Regions from separate parts of the Homo sapiens genome. Here region 2 is linked to region 1. Evidence: promoter capture Hi-C in 16 types of primary human blood cells and fetal thymus (Javierre and others, 2016). All regions are on one chromosome and are shown on one strand. The core of a region is centred on a gene start or on the middle of the fragment in contact, and the rest is flanking DNA. Distances in the headings are between cores, read along the strand shown.

Evidence for each region. The method cuts DNA at HindIII sites, captures the fragments that hold promoters and counts their contacts. A CHiCAGO score of 5 or more calls a contact.
Region 2: a contact is called between a fragment that was not itself captured here and the fragment with the promoter of FBXO40 in region 1, in 1 of 17 cell types (naive B cells). The highest score is 5.7, in naive B cells.

What each region holds. Positions count from the first base shown.
Region 1 is chr3:121,590,350-121,598,113 of GRCh38, reverse strand. It overlaps FBXO40 (F-box protein 40), which reads right to left and starts at 4,735. Exons shown (of 4, transcript NM_016298.4): 1 at 4,612-4,735. ARGFX (arginine-fifty homeobox) reads right to left here. Exons shown (of 5, transcript NM_001012659.2): 5 at 7,492-7,764. LOC124906360 (small nucleolar RNA U13) reads right to left here and starts at 6,820; the gene lies at 6,720-6,820. RefSeq lists silencers at 425-625, 4,498-4,792 and enhancers at 4,063-4,714, 4,715-5,365, 4,179-5,378. The HindIII fragment of the contact is 3,467 bases long and covers 3,289-6,755 here.
Region 2 is chr3:123,129,259-123,137,022 of GRCh38, reverse strand. It overlaps PDIA5 (protein disulfide isomerase family A member 5), which reads right to left. Exons shown (of 17, transcript NM_006810.4): 11 at 6,407-6,543. Among named protein-coding and RNA genes, the nearest start is that of MIR7110, 29 kb to the left of the region's middle. The HindIII fragment of the contact is 6,364 bases long and covers 1,410-7,764 here.

The DNA of each region.
Region 1 (7,764 bases), core at 3,486-5,985:
TTTTCTGCTTACATGTTACCTCCACAGAGAGTCCTTACCTGACACCCCCAATATAAAGTAAATCAATGAGCACTCCCATGAATAAGCTGAGTGATTTTTGACAAGTTAATCTACCTAAAGCTAATTTATTAATTCAAAAGTAGGACTTATAAGCAGGGCACGGTGGCTGACACCTGTAATCCCAGCACTTTGGGAGGCCAAGGCAGGTGGATCACTTGAGGTCAGGAGTTTGACACCAGCCTGGCCAACATGGAGAAACCCTGTCTCTACTAAAAATACAAAAAAGTAGCCGGGTGTGGTGTCAGGCACCTGTAATCCCAGACGCTCGGGAGACTGAGGCTCAAGAACCACTTGAACCTGGGAGGCAGAGGTTGTGGTGAGCCAAGATCATGCCACTGCACTCCAGCCTGGGCAACAGAGTGAAATTCTGTCTCAAAAAAAAAAAAAAAAAAAAGGGGGCCTATAATAACCAATAGGGTTGCACAAGGATCCAATGAGATGAAATAGGGAGTGTGTAATAGATGAGTCACTCTATGAGGAAGGTCATTCTCATGGTCACCTCCCTCCTCCAGGCCTTCATGTGTTCCCACTGCCCTCCTGTAGCCATGTCTGGTCTTTCCATTTTCAGTCCCCCTCACTCCAATGTATCTTATATTCCACTGTCAGTTTGATGATATTCAAATTCTATTTTTTAAAAATTATTTCCTCACTCTTTTAAGAATGTAAGCCTCCACACTTCCCCCCACTTTCGGCCCCCTTTAATCACCACGAGCCATTCCTTAAGCACTTAGGAATTCAAATAGTACTGCTTTAGGACTGAAACTTTGTAGATGCCATAAAGACAACTTGAAGGCATCTTTGTTTCCTAGGCCAAAATTTGTAAATTTTTTTGCTCATCTGCATTATTCTGCTCATCAAGAAAAAAGGAAAGTGTGGTCCTTGAGACTTGCCTTCTCTCTTGTGATTGGCTGTGGCAGTTGGCAGAACCTGGCAAAGTTGCTGTGATGGTGAGAATGGTGAGAGAGGTTCCAATGATGGGCACAAGTGTTGTCGCCAGCGAGGTGTGTGCAGGCAGTGGAAGGAGGTCTGACCGGAATATCAACAGAGGGTGATAATACTTCTTAAGGACCCACCAAATGGGCTTCTAGGGACTGAGAGTGAGTAGAGCAAACACTGCCCCCAGCACTCAGTCAACGAGAACATTGAATAGGATTGAACTGAATTAAACTGAACCCTTAAAAAGGCAGCATTTTAAAAGCTGCGAGAGTAATTTGAAACAAATTTAGGAAGAAAGTAGAGTGGTGTCAGATGTATGCTAATTGGGGCTGCTTTTTTTTTTAAGGTGAAAAGGAAATCATTTCAACTTAGGTTAATGTAGGCCTCATTGAAGAAAAGACCTCAGTGGGCTGGATTTATAATAGATAATCTGAGCACTGCCAGATTGTTTGCAGGGGATTAAAGTACTTGTTCTTTTAAACACTTGACAGGCACAGAATCCGAAATCTGGATCAGGCAGATATTAAGAAATCCATATTCCATAGCTTCTCAAACTTCAACATGCAAAGGAATCACCCGGGCAAACTTTTTAAAATGCAGATTCTGATCCAGTGGGACCAGGGTGAGGCCTGAGACTCTTTCCTTGTAACAAAATCCAGATGAAGCTGATGGTCTAAGGACCTCATTTTGAAAGGAAAGGGTCTGTTTTAACCTCCTTGTTTCCTAGAGGAGAAACTGAGGCTCTGAGAAGTGAAATGTCTTGCCTATGCTCCCAGAGTCTCTGGCTCTAGTCACGTGCTTTTTTTCTATTGTGCTTTGATGTTTTATTGAAAGAGTCTGTAGAAATCACAGCACCACACAAAGCTACCTGAGTGGTGACAGCCAAGGCATGTTGGCAGCTTAGATGGTACCAAGGGCAGAGTAGGACAAAGCGTGGAAGAAGGAGGAGGAGGTGGTGACCAAGTGTTGCTGGTCAACAAAGTCATGCTAACACGTATAGCAGGTGTATTTAAATCACTGACTCAAGCAAAAGAGAATGGGATTAACAAACAATAGTTTTAACATTCTTTTCTATAATTTTAAAGTTAGTAGGCAAACAGGGTTGATGTCAGGGAGATATTTTTAGGCAAGGGGCCCTCTCAGCACCCCTCACATGATGTCAGTAACTAAACTATTCTGCCTCCTCATGTGGCTGGCGCTGGCAATAATGATTTATTTCTGAGCTTTAACTTCAGTGAAAGTGACAAGGTTAAAAGTTAAAGGTCAAAGATTTTTTAACTCTTAACCTGTTAACCAGCCAATTAATTAGTTACTTTAATTATGCATTGTTGACCTGTTTCCCTGCTATGGAAATATTTAATTGTAGGGAAAGAAAATGTATAAAGATAATTATTAAAGTAATCTCTTTGCCTTCTTGAGATTTTAACACAATCACTTTGCTGAGGCTAATTCCCACATTGGGTTCCATAATCCTTGGCTTCGACGCTGCGATTCCAGTACCTTCACTGTATCCTAAAACAGAACCACCCTCTCCCAGATCCATTCCACTTCACAATCTGAAGTTTTCCACCTATACTAGAAATCTCTCTAACTTTATACTTATTAGTTATTGAATTAGCTAGTTAATTCTTATATCTGGTGCTTTTGTATCAGTACTATTCTATTAAATTACAGTTGCATTGGCCAAGATAGTGCTAAAGTAACTGGATTATCTAGGGGTAGCTGGGACTCAATCTGTCTGCTTGGTTACTTGTAAGCCAACACACCCTAGTTTCACCAGGACAGCATCCCAGCATACACCTTGGAGACCTTGGTGCTGTGGAGGCCCTGGAAAAATTAAATGAAGTTAGGTGATTATACACAGTGAATTTGCTTGTGCCCAGGAAACAGGCATAATGATAACCCAGACACCTATAGCAGAGTCTTGGGGTACATATGGAGGTTACAGAGACAGGCAGGAAGGAACCAGGAGTTAAGGTATCTGAATAGTTAGTTTAGGTCTCCTTTTACTTGGCATCGGTGGCTTTAGCCTGTACACATCAAAGGTCAGAGTGTACAGAATCCCTTTTGCTGCATAGGCCACTTCCCAGGATGTCCTTAGCTGAACTTTGAACCAGTGAAAAACAAGAAAATAAACACTGCTCCCTTACCTTGCCAATTTTTAGTGCATGCAACACTATACAGTTATTCCAGAAGCGAGAAACTATCTGTCTAAAGTTATAACTTTTGATACCTCAAGTATCATTAGTCATTTTACTTTTATCCCTCTGAATATGCAAAATTGTTCAAGCTTGTAACAATCTTTGGTTTTGGTGCATAAGCCTATATAAGTTTTTCAACTTGAGAAATATTTCACTTATATTTCATGGATGCATTTTGGACTCAAGAGAGCTGGGGAGAAGAGGGCCACACTTAGAGAATATTGTTGGCGAAAAAAAGGTGTTAAACTCTGCGGAGTTTGAATAGTATATACAGAAAATACAGTTGTGCTTATTAACCAGTAGTATGACACAGCAGACGAAATTTTAAGCTACATGAGAATGACTTGCAAGCAAACATAGCAAATGTTGACTGGAGAAAAGATCACAGCATTTAGACTTTAGAAAACAGAAATTCTGATCAGGCACAGCGGCTCATGCTTGTATTCTCAGCACTTTGGGAGGCCGAAGCGGGTGGATCACTTGAGGCCAGGAGTTCAAGACCAGCCTGGCCAACATGGTGAAACCCCATCTCTACTAAAAATACAAAAATTAGCCAGGCGTGGTGGCACAGGCCTGTAGTCCCAGCTACTCAGGAGGCTGAAGCAGGAGGCTCTCTTGAACCTAGAAGGTGGAGGTTGCAGTGAGCTGAGACTGCACCACTGCACTCCAGCCTGGGCAACAGAGTGAGACTCTGTCTCAAAAAAATAATAACAATGAATTAAATAAATAAATAAATAATAGAAATTCTGGGCCAGGCACAGTGGCTCAGACCTGTAATCCCAGCGCTTTTGGAGGCTGAGGTGGGCGGATCATTTGAGGCCAGGAGTTCAAGACCAGCCTAGCCATCAAGGTGAAACTCTGTCTCTACTAAAAAAATACAAAAATTGGCCGGATGTGGTGGCATGTGCCTGTAGTCTCAGCTACTCGGAAGGCTGAGGCAGGAGAATCACTAGAACCTGGGAGGTAGGGGCTGCAGTGAGCCAAGATGGTGCCACTGCACTCCAGCCTGGGTGACAGAGCAAGACTGTCTCAAAAAAGAAAGAAAAGGGAATAGAAATCCTGGATTCTAGGCCTTCCACTTGTTTCCTCACCACCTCCTCCACTTCCCCAGATCCCCCCACCCATCACCATGTTGTAACTTTACAGATATCATAACTACTCTTGTTGATTATAGAAGAAAGAACCTAAGCTGTCAGAAAGCAAGTACTCTACCTGCTCTTGAAATGGAAACAGAAATTTACACACGGCTGGATCTCATTCTCAGTGCCAGCCTTTCCCCCACATCTTTACATAACTAATTTGCTTAACAATCCTCTTCCACAGGACACAAAAGTGATATGCGGCTCAGCTTCATCTGCATATTCACCACTGAATGTCCTCGTCATGGTGCACCTGCTCCTGTTTGAATACTTACCTTAATGGAACAGGCTGAGTCAGCATCTGCTTGCACCTGAACCCTTGATTGCAAGTAAGCGGATTGCCGGGAGGTGGCTGGGTTGCATCAGCTGCAGTAGAGGACAGCGTTCTGTTGGGAAGGCAGGGAAAGGAGAGAAAACTTCAACAGAAATAGTCCAAGTGTTGCGAAGTTAAAAATAAAACGATATCACAAGGGGCAATGTGACCAGGCTCAGCTTACGACTTTTTCCTTCCCCTGTATTTATCAACACTCAGTCTCTACTGGAGTGGCATTTAGCAGGGGAAACTGAATGGGAAGTGAAGTTTTATATCAATAGGTTTTCTTTCCCTTGAGGAAGGAGGAAAATCCTTTTAAGAAGGATCATTTTCAAGGCCAGAACAGCCTCTCAGATTCCTGCATGTGCAGTCGGCAGGCCCAGCTGTGCTGAAGGAGGCTGGCACAGCCTTCAGGACTGGCTGCTGCTCTAATTATAACCATGCTCCTCACCTAAACCCATCACTGGCTGAAGCAGCAACTTGTGCAAATGACATGGTGTCCTGCTTCAGTTTCTCCTATCTCTTGTCGTGACAAGTAAGTGTCTGTCCTCCCCTGGTCCTTTCATCTTTCCTGGAAAAGGGAGAGTTTGTAATTCAGATACCAGGTGTAGAGTAAATCCAGTGTGAGAGAATTAGAGGTTGTAGGAGGCTTTAGCTGTCATTTAGTCCAGCTCCCTCTTTTTACAGATGAGGAGACAGAGATTCAGAAAAGGGAAATTGCTCATCCAAGGTCACACATCTCGTTAGTGGAAGAGCCAGAGGAAAGCCCCAGAGAGCTTGTTTAACTCTCAGTCTAGCGTTCTTTATCTTATCATCTTCAGATAAACTCATTCAGGATCTTGTGAGTGAAAAAAATATAGAATCCCGGCTTTGGTGTTTTCTTTTTCTTTTTTTTTTTTTTGAGACAGAGTCTCGCTCTGTTGCCCAGGATAGAGTGCAGTGGCGTGATCTCGGCTCACTGCAACCTCCACCTCCTGGCTTCAAGTGATTCTCCTGCCTCAGCCTCCTGAGTATCTGGGATTACAGGCACGTACCACCATACCTGGCTAATTTTTGTATTTTTAGCAGAGACGGGGTTTCACCATGTTTGTCACGCTGGTCTCGAAATCCTGACCTCATGATCCTCCCACCTCAGCCTCCCAAAGTGCTGGGATTAGGTATGTGATTTTGACAAATTTACTTAACCATTTTCTATTTCAGTTTTCCCCATTGTGAAATGGCGATGATACTTGGTGCGACCACAGGTAACTGTGTCAGTACACATAAGGCACATGAATGATATGTACCACATGCCAAGTGCTCCACAATGCCAGCTGTTATTTGAATGTATTTGAATGTATTTTGACTAACAGCAGATGTGCTAAATTTGGCTGTGATTAACAGCCATCGAATTAACCTTTCCCCTGGATTCTTCATACATATATGTCCTTGGAGGTAAACTTATTTGGAATGAGCAAATAGCAGTTGAAAATTGTAAAAAATTTCTACACTGATCTTGTATCTTGAAACTTTGCTGAACTGGTTTATTAGTTCTAATAGTTTTCTTGTGGATTCCTTAGGATTTTCAAGACCATGCCATCTGTTAACAAAAATATTTTAACTTCTTTCTTTGCGATTTGGATGCCTTTAACTTCCTTTTCTTGCTGTTTTTCCCTGCCTAGAACTTCCAGCACTATGTTTAACAAGAGTGGTGAGAGTGGCCACACTTCACTTGTTCCTGATCTTAGGGGGGAAGCATTCAGTCTTCCACCAATAAGTACAATGTTACCTGTGGATTTTTGTAGATGGCCTTTATCAAGTTGAAGGAGAGGAGTTTGATAGTTTGTTCTAGTTTGTTGAGTGAATCAAGAAAGAGTGTGGATCTTCATCAAATGCTTTTTCTGTGCCCAGCAAGATGATCATGTGGTTTTTGTCCTTTATTCTATTAATATCGTGTATTACATTGATGAATTTTTTTATGTTGAATCAATCTTCCATTCCTGAATAAACCCTACTTGGTCATGGTATCTATCCTTTTTATATGTTGCTAAATTTAGTTTGTTAGTATTTTATTGAGAATTTGTTTTTTCAAGTCAGATGCATAATGTGCCAATGTTGAAACAAGCTTCGAGGGTAGCACTCACACATCCACGTGAATGCCCAATCATCACATTCATGAACTACAAAAGGATCTTATTGAGGATTTTTGCGTCTATATTCAGAAGAGGTATTACAGGTTGAGTATCCCCAATCTGAAATCTGAATTCCAAAATGCTTTAAAATCCAAAATTATTTGAGTGCTGATGTGACACCACAAGAGGAAAGTTCCACACTTGGCCTCATATGGTGGGTCATAGTCAAAACGCACTCGAAACTTTGTTTCATCCACAGAGTTACTTAAAATATTGTGCAATTACCTTCAGGCTATGTATATAAGGTGTATATGAAACATAAATGAGTTGTGTTTAGGCTGGTGTCCCATCCCCAAGATATCTCATTATGTATGTGCAAATATTCCAAAAACTCCAAATCTGAAACGCTTCTGGTTCCAAGCATTTCCAATAGGGGATACTCACTATAATCTGTAGTTCCCTTATGGCGTCTTTGTTCAGCTTTGGTATCCAGATAATATCGATCTCATAAAATGAGTTCCCTCCTCTTTTGTTTTTTTTGGAAAAGTTTATGAAGGATTGGTGTTAATTCTTCTTTAAACATTTTGGTAGAATTTAGCAGTGAAGCCATCTGGGACTGGGCTTTTCTTTGTGGGAAGTTTTCAATTGTTAACTCAATCTCTGTGCTTGTTATAACTCTGTCTCAGTCTGTTTTTGTGTTGTTATAACAGAATACCTGAGACTGGGTAATTTATGAAGAGAGATTTATTTCTTACAGTTCTGAAGGCTGGGAAGTCTTCCAGTCTCAGACGGAAGATGGAGGGGCCACACCTGGCCAGGGCCTTCATGTTTCATCCTCCCATGGCAGAAGGAAGGGAGAGGAGGAGGTAAGAGAGAGAGAGAAAGATAGAGGTGGGGGTGGGGATAAAGATTTTGGGGAAGAAGAAGGCCGAACTCATCCTTTTATCAGGAACCCACTTCTGAGATAACTAACCCACTCCCACAATAATGGCATTAATCCATTC
Region 2 (7,764 bases), core at 3,342-5,841, 1.5 Mb before region 1:
TACCAATGCTCACTGTATTGTTTGAATAGTGAAAAACTGGAGATAAATACAATACCTATCAGTAGGGGAATGGTTTAAAATTTCTGGCATATCCAAATTATAAAATACTATTCAATGGTTAAAAAGATTGAGGTAGATTTATGTGCCAATATCTACATTTACATGAAAATATCTTCGAGACCTATTGACAAGTTAAAAAAAGCAAATCACAGAAGAATGGATAGGAAGTAGTCCTACTTATGTTAAAAAACAAAAACAAAAAACCCAACCCCCTTTTTTTTTTTTTTTTTTTTTTTTGTCTTGTCACCCAGGCTGGAGTGCAATGGCATGATCTCGGCTCACTGCAACCTCTGCCTCCCGGGTTCAAGCAATTCTCTTGCCTCAGCCTCCCAAGTAGCTGGGACTACAGGCGTGCACCACCATGCTCTGCTAATTTTTGTATTTTTAGTAGAGACAGAGTTTCACCATCTTGGCCAGGCTGGTCTCGAACTTCTGACCTCATGATCCACCCGCCTTGGCCTCCCAAAGTGCTGGGATTACAGGCGTGAGCCACCATGCCCAGCCAACCAACCCCCTGTTGTTTAGGTAGAAGCACTGCGGAAGGAGAAGGAAGGATCCATCCTCTACTGTGAGTGGTGACCAGCCCTGAGAAGGGGCACGGCGTGGAGAGTGAGGGATTTTCACTGTCTGCACTATATTCTTATGTATCCCTTGAACCTTGCACTGCTGATAACAAGAATGCTGTTAATATTATTCTTAAATTATTTGTGCAATTAGAAAATACAAGTGGCCAAGTGCAGTGGCTCATGCCTATAATCCCAGCTGCTTGGGAGGCCGAGGCAGGAGAATCACTTGAGCCCAGGAGTTCAAGACCAGCCTGAGCAACATAGGGAGACTCCATTTCTACAAAAAGAAATCCAAAAAATTAGCCAGGTGTGGTGGCCCGTGCCTGTAGTCCCAGCTACTCAGGAGGCTGAAGTGGAAGGATCATTTAAGCCCAGGAGTTTGAGGCCAGCCTGAGCAACATAGTGAGACCCTGTCTCTAAAAAAAGAAAAGAAAAAAAACAGAAATAAATAAATGAATAAAATAAAATGACAGCATGAAGGCCCTTCGTGGCATGATAGTTACACAAATCTATACATGTGATTAAAAAAAAAAAAAAGGTCGATTTTATGGTATCCTCTTTTAAAAAATAAAAGTTAAAAATAAGACCAAAAAAATGAAAAAGACTAGCAAGAATGATGCCAAAAAGTAAAAAAAAAAAAAAAAAAAAAAAGTTGTTACCTCTGGATAATGGGGATTATAGGTAGTTTCTTTCCTTAATCACCTATATTTTACTATACCTTCTAGATTTTCTACAAAGGTTATATATTGCTTTGAGAATAAGACAAAAATACAGTTAAAAGCTTAAAAAAAAAGATGACAGCAGAAAATCTTGAGTCTGATGGGGACCTGCTGCCAGAAACAGCCCGGCTCCTGGAAGGCAGTGCAGATACATGCTGGAGGCAAGATATGGCAAAGAAAACATCCCATCTCAGACCTGTTGCTAAGGAAAATGGGTCGATGAGTCAGGGGGTAGGCAAGGGTAGAGCCACGTGGCCCCCAAGAAGCCCTGTAGCACAGGGGAGAGGAAGAGCAGGGGGTCCTCAGGATCCCCAGAACCTGCATGGGTGTCCACAGGCCTAGGAGAGACGAGCTGCTCAGGAACACCCCTCTCTGGGATGCCCCCCTTGCTCCCCTGAACATCCCCATATAAATGATGTCTACTCAGGTAGTGCCACAGCAGCTTGTCCTTCCCCTGCTAATGCAGACCTGAAGTTACTAGAGAGGGACAAAAAACAGTGACAAGAGGAGATGAGTGGCCACACACACTCTGACTTCTCTCATATGGAACGCCGCAGAAAAACACAAACAAAAAGGTGCCACGGGTGGCAGCAGCCACTGTCCTCCTGACACACCATTTGCAGAGAGCATCTCCGTCGCCTGCAGGGTGGGAAAACCGGGCCTGGGGCTGCATGTGAGGCCCCACTGTGAGGACCAGAGGGAGGTCAGGCACGAAGCCTTGCTACAAACGGGAAGCCAAGTGCTAGCAAGAGAGGCGGCTCCTGGCCTTGGGTCCAGGCAGCACCACAGACACACCCCTCTCAGAGCCCTCTGCTCACACTCGGCCTGTCCTGCCCAGGAGGCCCGGCCCAGCTCCTGGGGGACAGGGCTGTGGGGCAAACCTGGCTGTAAATCTCAGTGTGGCCTGTGGCAGAATAGAGATCGCCCATATGAAGGGCCTAGCACCGTGGCTGCCCTGGGCTCATTTATTTAGTGACAACTTAGGCATCAGTTGGAGAGGCCACTGAAGTATCTGTGGAGGGTTTCTAATGGGCTCTTGCTGGGAGAGAGAGGGAAGAAAGACAATGGGGAGATGGGGGCAGATGAGGTGGGAAGTGAGTGGCAGGAGTGCTGGGAAGAGGGTAAAGGAGCAGGGCCCATGGTGTCTCCAGGTCAGTCATCACTTACGGTGATGGGTAACACAGAACGGGGAGGGGTGCCGTGTGCCTTTCCTGCTGAGAGCCCAGCAGGGCAGCCTCACAAGCATCCCATCAGTTCCAGGCAGAGAAGCAAGTGCCTTGCCTCTGGAACCCACAGGTGCCAGAGAGCACCCCCCTGGGGTGGCACAGGTCAGAGGAAAGCTGAAGACCCTTTCCCTTCCTGGCCTTTCTAAGCAGGACCGGGAAAGAAACTAACATTGACTGGGTACTTACTACAGGCATAGAAGCAACAAAGCAGACCAGCCTGGGCAACAAAGTGAGACCCCGTCTTTACAAAAAATTTAAAAATTAGCCAGGTGTGGCGGTGTGCACCTGTAGTCCCAACTACACAGGAGGCTGAGGTGGGAGGATCACTTGGGTCCAGGAGGTCGAGGCTGCAGTGAGCTGTGTTTGTGCCACTGCACTCCAGCCTGAGTGACAGAGCAAAACTCTATGTCAAAAAAAGAAAGAAAAGAAAAGGAAAAGAAAAGAAAAGGAAAAGAAAAGAAAAGGAAAAGAAAAGAAAAGAAAACAAACAACACTGCAAAGAAAGACCAGGTTTTCTCTGGGAATCAGTATCAGGAAGCATTTTAATTTTCTTCTCTATACTTTCCTATATTATCCCTTGATAAAATGTACATGTATTACTTTTATAATTAGCATAGAGTCATAAAAAATAAATCAGCTTTTTAGTTTGAGCCCCACTATTTCGGTTTGTTGGGGTACTTCAAAATGTCAATGCATGGTCTGACATTTCAGCTGGTCAGCCTTTTCCCAAGGCTAACCCTGCCAAATGTGAAAGTATGCCTTTTTATAGCATTAACAAAGTTGCTGATTAAAAACAAGTACATACCCTCTAGACAGACTCAGGCCAGATTCACAGTCACAATGTATCCAGGGGATGCTTCCCCTCAGGGTAGCTCCATCCTGTCTGATTCTCCCCATCACAGTGAGGAAAACAGCAACTCATTTTGTCAAATGTCTTGATAAAAGAAAGACACGCTAATTCATCAAGCTCAGCAATCCTATCCCAAGAAACAAACCAAGCGGCGCATTCAGCGATCTGGAGTAGAAGCTGTGGTCTGCTATGTTGATGGATCCCAATTTGTTTCTGTGAGTCTCTAAAATGGTCTGTCTCCAAATCACTCCGTATTTGGCCTGGGACTGACACCTGGAACACTGTGATTTCCAGAATTCACCCTTTCTGCACTTAGGAAACGCAGGATGACACTGCTGGTCTCTGGCCTCTTGACATTTGTCCTTTACTCCAGGTCCCTCAAACACTGCAAAAGTGGTTTCTTGATCACTGGGGATTCTCAGAAGCACTCTGGCATGAGATACAAAGCCAGGCAGCTATGAGCTCTCTGCTCTCAGTTCACCTGTCCTGAGCTCCAAACTCCCTAAAGCATGTACATTCCATCCCTCCCTAGGCTAAAGACCATGCTCTTAATGAAGAAGTGTGTAGAAAGGGAATTAATCCAGAGCTATTACCATCCGACAGGAACATTGACGGGCAGTATATCAGGAAGCTAACCACATGCTTTTGCCCTGATCCCTCTCACTCTGCCAGCCCAGCAGAAATAAACCCACATGCGCACAACCATGAATGCCCAGGGGACTGGTGACCTCTCCCAACCCTAACTGGAAGGACAGACACATGGGGATGAAGACCCTGGAGGTTCCCAAGGAGGAACTGGAAACAGCCAGCCAGTATCTGCTGTCACGGCTGGGACAGGGGTGCAAGGATGGTGATTTCGGCTCTAGATTCAACATCAATTCCTGCAAGACTCGCTTCCAGCAGCAGCTCTGAGGCTGGCCAGGGAGTGTATTTTATAGCTAGGAAGAGCACTGCAGTGCTACCTGGCTGGCCTCATGGCGGGCACTTTTTTGAGTACCTTTACCCTCGGGGATGCCCTCACCAAGGCCCTAGCAGACCTGAGGCAGACGCCCTTCATTGCGCTTCATCAGGAGAGGCCCACAAGACTAGAGGGTTTTTGAAACTTAGTTTTGGGGGCTTGTTTTGGTCTCTTTTCTAGGAACTCAGAAGAGCTATAGGAAACTATTCCTTTAGAGCTATTCCTTTAGAGTCCTTTAGAGCTATTCCTTTAGAGTCTCCTAAGAATTTAGCACTTGTAAGAAATAATGAGTTAGGAAAATCCATGGTAAGAGTATGTTTATGAGCAATTCCCAGGCTAGCCAAACTCATGGATACTGTGGGGGAAGGGGAGGCGGCCAGGAGACTGGGGCTCAGGCTCTGACCCTGTTCTTCCTGGAACCTAAGGCTCTTGAGGCCTGAAGCAGCTCAGGACTCACGGAGCCGTGGGTGGTCTATGTCATTTCTCTGTGTGACGGTCTCATCTGTAAAATGGGGCTAATTGTACTCACTTTGTGGCACGCTGGGTAAAACAAAAGATGACCCTTCAGGAAGACAATGTGTTACCACTGTAGGGTGACACACAACTGTTGGCATGAGGACCCTATGATTAAGAGGAGTAATAACATTTCCTCCTGATAGAATATGCCTCTATGGACTAACCATCCTCATGCACTGTGACCTCACGATTTCAGCCCTGCTCCATGAGGCACTGACCTCTTGCTTTTCCTCCACAATCTCTTACTCACAACACTCTGTGCCCACACCTGCCATCCCCTGGCTCTCACGCGGCCTTGTCTGCCTTCCCAGGGGCAGCCTTGTCCCTCTTGGAAACCACCTATGGTCAATTTTCCACTCTCCATGGGAGTAGGAAGACACTGCTCCAGAAAACTCCTGGGCCACAGGCCTTCCAGCCCTTATCGCAAGCACGTTTGATAGCATTTACAGGATTTTACTTCCTTGATTCACTGTGGTCATTTCAGAATGAGAATGCAATGAGGTGAAGCAGACAGAAGGCATTCTAGATGCTGGATGATCTGCAGCTCCAGCCTGGCCTCCCCATGCCCTCTCAGCTCCTGGGCAAGCACAGGCTCTCCTGGGGCCTCAGCCCGCGACCACTTGTAAGGTAAGAGGTGACTACTGCCCTAGATAATATCTTTTTTTTTTAAATTAAAAAATTGTTTTTAGAGACAGGGTCTTTTTTTTTGAGATGGAGCCTCGCTCTGCTGCCCAGGAGGGAGTGCAGTGGCACAATCTTGGCTTACTATAACCTCTACCTCCCAGGTTCAAGCGATTCTCCTGCCTCAGCCTCCCAAGTAACTGGGATTATAGGTGCACGCCACCACGCCCGGCTAATGAGACAGGGTCTTGTTTGGTTACTCAGGCTGGAGTGCAGTGGCACAATCACAGTTCACTGCAGCCTCAACCTCCCAGGCTCAAGCAATCCTCCCACCTCAGCCTCCTGAGTAGCTGGGACTACAAGTGTGCACCACATGCCCAGCTAATTTTTAATTGTTTGTAGAGATGGGGTCTTGCTATGTGGCCCAGGCTGGTCTTGAACTCCTGGCCTTAAACAATCCTCCTGCCTTGACCTCCCAAAGTGCTGGGATTATAGGTATGAGCCCCCATATGAGGTATCAGCCCTAATTTTATTTCCAGGCCCAGTCTGTTCTAGGTAACATCTCAGGGTGCTTCCAGCTTAATTTCTCCAATTCATGCTGACTGGGAGGAAGATGCTCAGAGCTAGGGGTGGTGGAGACTCACTGAGCTCTAGCTAAGGGACAAGTAAAGCCTGATCAGGACTTCTGTGTTGTTTCCATGGCAATGGGGGGTAGGCCATGTGCACTACGAGGGTGGGGACCTCGCCTGTCACCACTGCATCCCCTGGCTTAGCATGGGTCCTGGCATCCAAAAAATAAGTGCTTCCTGGGTTCACATTGCAAAGCGCCACACTCATCCTACTCTGAGAGAGGGGAGGGTGTGGAGGGGGAGGAGCAAAGTTCCACTCACATGGGGCGTGGAACATGACGAGGACAGAGGAGTGTTCCTTCACAAACTGGTCAAAGTCTTCATCGGTCAGGTGATAAACGGAGCCGCCCTCATCTGCCCAGGGAGTCTCAGGGACCTGGGGCTGTGGCGGCTGCGGACTGGAAGACCAAAAACAGGCAGAGCTCAGAGCAGGCCCTGGGGCCTTGGCAGCCCTTCTAATTCCAGGCCCCTGGACCCAAAGCTCCCCATGGGCTCGGGACGGCCCACTCCAGGGGCTCAGCCTTTAACAAACCAGAAACTGCCCTCATGGAGGTGCCGTGGGGTGAGTGGTGTGGCCCTGCCCACCTCCACCTTCCCCGCAAAGCCCCAGACAGGTACTTAGCTGATATCCTGTTACAAACAGTGGCTTCTGGCTACAGCTCTCTAGATAGCCTAAGAAATCTCACTTCCTCCTGGGAATCTAGGGGCTTGTTAGCTTTCTCAACCTATTTCAAACTTTCAGCAAACTGGAAAGAATAAATAGCAACAGTGAATGGTGACCTTTGGAAAAGCTCACTGTTGTGTTTAAAACTGCCCACTGGGCAGTGGAGGGGAGGAAGAGGGTACAGAGAGGAGGGGGTGAGGAGGAGAGAGAGAGGCCAGGTATCTCAGAAAGATCAGATCTAGGCCATGCAAGGGGAAGCTGCCACATGGGGGTGCAGGGGAAGGTTGCAGCAAGGGAAGTAAGGCTGGGGGTATCCTAACTACGACAGCGTGTATGCTACATCACTAATCCTTCCCAGAGGCCAACAACCAACTTATTTAGTTCTCCCAGAAGCCAAATCAACTCTACCACTCATCAGCTGCAAAACCTTAGGCAGCCGCCTGACCTCTCTGGAGCCTGTTTCCGCAGCGTGACTGTGTGCCAGTCCTAGGTCATCATCTGCTAGGAGGAGGGAGGCTCGCAGGGGCCCTCCCTTGCCCCAAAGTTCAGGACAAGGTGGCTGGTGGTGACACAGTCTCCCTGCTGCTTTACTGTCACAACTACCTTTGCCAGAGCACCTTAATTGCAGCTTTGAAAAAACCCTCAAGGATGACAAATGTGAAAAGACAACCATTGTGTCGCACTTTTGAGAGCCTACAGGAGGAAATATTTTAAAGTTCCAGCAGCCAGGGCTGGAAAATCCAGAGGGAGTGAAGTGGCTGACACAATGGAACTCTGCCACCCACTTCCCTCCGCAGCCGGGTATGATGTCGCCTTCAGAAGCCCTCTCTGGCCCTTCTGACTGGGCCCCACTGGCCACCATGGCCTCCCAGGTCCCAAGAAATGGAAGGAGGCAGGGAGAGGGCAAATCAATCTCAGTCCATGCATATCCAATGTCAGATGGGACTGGTGACAA